Regions from separate parts of the Homo sapiens genome. Here region 2 is linked to region 1. Evidence: promoter capture Hi-C in 16 types of primary human blood cells and fetal thymus (Javierre and others, 2016). All regions are on one chromosome and are shown on one strand. The core of a region is centred on a gene start or on the middle of the fragment in contact, and the rest is flanking DNA. Distances in the headings are between cores, read along the strand shown.

Region 1 (2,772 bases), core at 246-2,745:
TGGGGGACAACTGAAGCCCAGGCCCAGGGGAAGGCAGAGGTTGAGGCCAGGGACAGAGGCATGGAGTGGGTCCCTAGTCCTGGGGCTTGTTGGTATCAGCGTGGCCAGTGCCTCTGCAGCGGTGGCAGGAGACTGGTTGGGCAGGTGGGAGGGCTGCCAGGGCTGTGTGGGGAGACACATGATGGGTTGGTGGGGGCCTGGGAGAGGCAGGGTGCTCCAGGTGTCAGGATGATTTGAGAGCCATAAACCACGATGGTGCCTCCGTGTGAGTTCAGCTTGAGGCAGAGAGGATAGGGGACTCATCCGGTGTCAGCACAGGGTCCCACCTCAGAGTCCTGCATGCTCCCTGCCCCCAGCACTGACCCCTCCAACCCTAGCAATGGGGAGGTTTTAAATGCTTGGAATAGAGGGGGCAGATCAAACCCCAGCATAACCCCACCCTTTCATTCACACCAGCCACACCTTTCCAAGGCCCCGTCCCATTACTCAGGGAGACAGATCATTGGACTTGGCTGCTTTCTGGGATTGCGGGGGGAGTGGTAGGGCCCTACCCTACCTTCAGCTGTCTCGGACATCCCGCACTCTACCAAGTTCTTGGACAGAGAGAAGGGGAGGGAGCAGAACTCTGAATCAGGATCCTTTTCCAACAAAGTACCCCGCTATACACCCCAAGTCCCCGTCGTCAGCTGGGTAGAATATTGTCCCTCTGTGGTCTCAGAATGAAGTCAGGGGAAGGTATCTGGGGACACGGAGCTCAGGGCCAGTGCCTGGGGACAAGCAACCACCAGCAGCCCCCACAGGGCGAAATCGGAGCCTGAGTAACCTCCAGGGCCGGATTCAGCCTCAGGGCAGCTCCCTTCGGGTCCTGCCCCAGTCCCCGGCAAGTCTCCGCGGAAGCTCCGCTGAACTGGGAGTGGGAAGCAGGAGAGGGGCTGGGTTGAGGTGGGTCCGAGGGGAAGTGAGGTGCGGAGGGGAAGTGAAAGGGGAGAGGACGGCAGGGAAGCTGAAGGGGTGTGAGGTCCCCCGGGAGGAGAACTGGAGAGGGCCAGACGGAGGGTTACGGGTGAAAGGGAGGGTCTGTGAGGGAGCTGGGGCTGAGGCTGTGTTAGGGGGTCTGGGAGAGTCTCAGGGTTTCTGGAAGGTGGACACAAGGTTCGGGGGTTGTCAGGTTTCTGGATGAGATTCTTAGGATTTCTGGGCTCGGGGGCTCGGGATGAGGGACAACTCGGGCTGGACAAAGGCTGTCCACGTCCCCGAGTCTGAGCGCGTCTCAGGATTTCTGGGCTCGAGATCTCGGCCCGGGCATCACGGTGGGCCGGCTCACCTGTAGACATCGGTCCAGAGGTAGGTGCCCAGCACGTACACCGCCTCCACGCGGCTCCCGTACTGCAGCCGCACGGTCCGCTCGCGCAGCATCCTCCCCGCCGCAGTGCCCGCGCTCGCTGGTCCGGGGCGGCCGGGAGCACCTGCAGCAGGTGCGCCTTCTCCAGCAGCCTGCGCCCCACGGCCCCGCGCGCAGCCTTATCCAGCGGCCGGTGGGCGGGGCGGCCCGCCCCAGTCCTCTCGCAGTGGGCTGCGGGCCTGTCCGTCAAGCGTGGTCCCGCCCCTAACTCGTCCCGCCCCGCTGAGGTCGTGGCGAAGTCATCAGGGACCAGTTTTGTGCTTTCCATGGTTGGATTGTCATTCTTTCATTCGACAAACCTTCGGTGGGCGCCCAGGTGTTGGAGGGCCCTAGCTCCCCTCCGGACGCCCCAGCCCAGTGGGGCTGAAAATGCAAATGTGGGAACACAAAGAGGGTGCCCTAACCCAGCCTGGGGGCCAGGAAGCCTTCCCAGAGAAGACGATCCTGGAACCTTCTTAAAGGAGGCGTTTGCAAATTAAAGGCGAGGAGAGGGAGCTGCCTGTGCAAAGCCGGGTGCAGCCCGGTACCCCCATCCCCCAACAGTCAGATGAACCTCACCATAGAGAAAACGGGAAGCGGTGGGGATGGGGAACCCGGCAGCTGAGGGAGACCAGGACGCCAAGCCAAGGCATTGGAGGGTGGGAGATGGGAGCCTGGAGTGGTTGTCTCCGCGAGCCGTGGTCGGGTGTGCTCGTGAAATGGGTCATTCTGGGCTGGGGAGGGGCAAGGAAGCCCCTGGCTGTGGCCAGAGCTGGAGAGGTGGGGACTGACCCGGCCACTGCTTAGGGACTGGGATTTTGGTGGCACCTGGTGACTGATAGGATGTGTGGGTGGAGGGAGAGGAGAGGGGTAAGGATTAGGGCCCCGGTTCTGGCCTGGGCCACCAAGGGAAGGGGGGTGCCACCCAGAGGTCATCGTGTGTCTCACAGAGGCTGAGATGTAGGATGACAATCAGTGTGGGCCTCGGCCAGCCCCTCCCATGTCCCAGCCCTTCCCCTGGGACCCAGTGGGAGTGCTGTTCAGACACATACATCAGCCCTGTGTGAGGAAGTGGTCTTTGGTAGGTGAGGACAGAAACTGAGGGGGGGTGGGCAGAGGCCGTGGGAGGGAAGGAGTGGGGCGGAGGGGATGTGTGTTTGGGAAGGAGTTAGAGCTGATGGAAGATGGAGCTCCAGGAACGGGTGCCCCCAGACAAGAGGGGTGAGGCCCACAAGTGCCCAGTGCTGATATACCCAGCCCTTGGACTCCAACCTTCTCCCTGAGGCGGCCCAAATTAGGAGGTGGTGAAGAGCCCAGCTGCTTCTGAGTGGCAGGGATTTGGGAGGAATGTGAGTGGGGAAGAGGGAAGGCCCGAGTTTTAGCCAGGAGGT
Region 2 (2,700 bases), core at 177-2,676, 43 kb before region 1:
GAAAAGAATTTAAATCTCTCGTTAATAATTTTTAGGCTGATTATGTGTTGCAATGCTAACATTTTGGATTTATGGGGTTAAAATTTTACCTGCCACAGCAACAACATGCAAACCAGCTTCAGCCTACTTCCTCCTTCCTTTATGCTGTCGAGTTCCTCTAGCTCTTGCCCTCTGCTGGCAGGGGCGGGTAATATATTGGTTTGCTGCTACCCCATTCACTCCAGCCTCGGGAGGCTAGCTTACCTTTGTGCCGGGGATGGGGACAAAGGACATGAACTCATCCACGTGGCCCACAGTCAGCCAGTCTGAGTAGAGCTCCACGGGCGCCTGCACCTGCTGGGCCTTCAGGAAGTCACGCACCACCTTGGTCATCCTCCGACCACCAGACCTGGAGAAGGGAGGAAGAGGAGTTTCAGCAAATTACCCACCGCACCAGAGGGCCTGCAAGAGGAGTTTGGTCTCTGGGACCCACCTCGGACCCAGAGTGACATCAGCAGAGAAGTCCCAGGAAGGAGACTAGGTTGGGTTAAGAGACCCTGGCGCAGGCAGTAAGGCGTTTGAGTCCCAGGGGAAAGAGTAGGTGTGAGTTGCAGCTGCGGCCTGTGTGAAGGGCAGGGAGCCCAGGCTTCAGCCCTTGAGGGTGCCAGTGAGTGTGCAGAGGCTACCTTTTGTGTGCGGGAGTCCCACCTGGCCTGCTGGACGGGGCTAGGGCACAGGAGGGCTCCAAAATCTGCCCTCATCCATGTGCCTCTTTGCTACATTAACTTCTACTTACTTTAATCTTTTTTTTTTCCCCCGAGATGGAGTCTTGCTATGTTGCCCAGGCTGGAGTAGAGTGGCATGATCTTGGTTCACTGCAACCTCTGCCTCCCGGGTTCAAGCAATTCTCCTGCCTCAGCATCCTGAGTAGCTGGGACTACAGGCGTGTGCCACCACGCCCGGCTAATTTTTGCATTTTTAGTAGAGACAGGGTTTCACCATGTTGGCCAAGCTGGTCTTGAACTCCTGACCTCATGATCCGCCCTCCTTGGCCTCCCAAACTGCTGGGATTACAGGTGTGAGCCACTGTGCCTGGACTTACTTTAATCTTTAATCAGTTCAAGAGAAACCTCCTCCAGGAAGCCCTTCCTCATTTCTTTTTTTGTGTGTGTTTGTTTTTTGTATTTTGAGACAGAGTCTAACTCTGTCACCAGTGCAGTGGCATGATCTCAGCTCACTGCAATATCTCCCTCCCTGGTTCAAGCGATCCTCCTTCCTCAGCCTCCCAAGTAGCTGGGACTACAGGTGCCCACCACCCCGCCCAGCTAATTTTTTTGCATTTTTAGTAGAGATGGGGTTTTACCATGTCGGCCAGGATGGTCTCGATCTCTTGACTTCGTGATCTGCCCACCTCAGCTTTCCAAAGTGCTGGGATTACAGGTGTGAGCCACCGCTCCCGGCCAGCCCTTCCTCATTTCTAGACCCCCCAAGGTCTGCAATCTCTCCATTATCCTCCGAAGATAACCCTAGCTCCTTAGGGTGGCCAACAAATTCCTTTCTGATCTGGCTCCTGGCCAGCCCTCCTCCCTCGCTTCCCTCCCTTCCCCCGGTTCTGTCTGCTCCAGCCACCTGCTACACTTGCTATCCCTTGGGGCTTTTCCCTTTGCTGTTCCTTCTGTATGGAATGCGCTTCCTTTACAATCTCCTGATGGCTGCCTACTTCTTAACATCCAAGCCTCAACTCTAGTCACATCTTCAAAAAAACAACAGCTAAGGCACCCCTGTCCCCAGGAATGTTTTATCATGTCACCCTGTTTTATCTTCTCCATTGCATGTATCAGCATTCAGAATTATCTAATTGATTTACTTGATTCCATGTTTATTTTCTGTACTGCCCTTACCCAACTATAAACTCCCGGAGAGCTGGGACTTCATCTGTTCTGGTCACCGCTGTATCCCCAGAGCCTAGAATAGTGCCTGGCACAGAGTAGTTTCTCAATAAATATTTGTCTTTAAGGGCCGCCCCTGAGCTCCTCGAGGGGGTTCAGGGCCACTCCCTGGGCTGACCTGACTCCCTGTTATTCTTTCTATCGTTGCAAGTCCCTCCATTTCATCAGGGTCTATTTGCATGCCTGAGACCTCTGCTATCTCCTTGAAGGCAGGGGCTGGGCTTCCTGTTTGGGACCCTGTGCCTGACACAGGGCCTGGCACTTGGCTGGTGCTCAGGAAATGGTTGCTGAGTGAATGAGTGGCCACTGAGTGGAGGGAGAAGGAGGCAAAAGTGGGCAAACAGTCGCTGGCTGTGCCAGTGGCCTCCCCGCAGAAGGCTGAGCATCCCATGTGGCTCGGAGGAAACTGGCGGCCAAATCCTGGCTGACCCCATCTGTGCAGGCTCCTGGCAGCCCTTTTGTGACGTGAGAACCTAAGGTATTCACTCTTTCCCCAGCGACTGCCCTGACAAGGAAGAATCTGTCTTTTCACTGGCTGGTGGGTCAACTGGGCAGGGAGTGAGGAGAATCATGGACAGGCCAGGGAGCCAGGGACTCACATTTCTGGGGCAGGACCACGTCTGCTCATACCTCTTTTAAGTATGGTAGCCCTGAGGATTCATTGGTACGCTCCCACTCATACCTGTCAGTTTTCCTTCTCTGGACTCCTCCATCCCTTCCCCAGCTGATTTATTTAATATTTTATTTTATTTTATTTTGTTTTTTGAGACGC

The links. The method cuts DNA at HindIII sites, captures the fragments that hold promoters and counts their contacts. A CHiCAGO score of 5 or more calls a contact.
Region 2: a contact is called between a fragment that was not itself captured here and the fragment with the promoter of PADI2 in region 1, in 4 of 17 cell types (neutrophils, M0 macrophages, M1 macrophages and 1 more). The highest score is 14.5, in neutrophils.

The regions. Positions count from the first base shown.
Region 1 is chr1:17,117,956-17,120,727 of GRCh38, forward strand. PADI2 (peptidyl arginine deiminase 2) reads right to left here and starts at 1,496. Exons shown (of 16, transcript NM_007365.3): 1 at 1,325-1,496. The coding sequence starts at 1,416. RefSeq lists a silencer at 1,306-1,515 and an enhancer at 2,087-2,621. The HindIII fragment of the contact is 8,283 bases long and covers 1-2,772 here.
Region 2 is chr1:17,075,436-17,078,135 of GRCh38, forward strand. It overlaps PADI2 (peptidyl arginine deiminase 2), which reads right to left. Exons shown (of 16, transcript NM_007365.3): 12 at 244-388. Among named protein-coding and RNA genes, the nearest start is that of SDHB, 23 kb to the left of the region's middle. The HindIII fragment of the contact is 7,913 bases long and covers 1-2,700 here.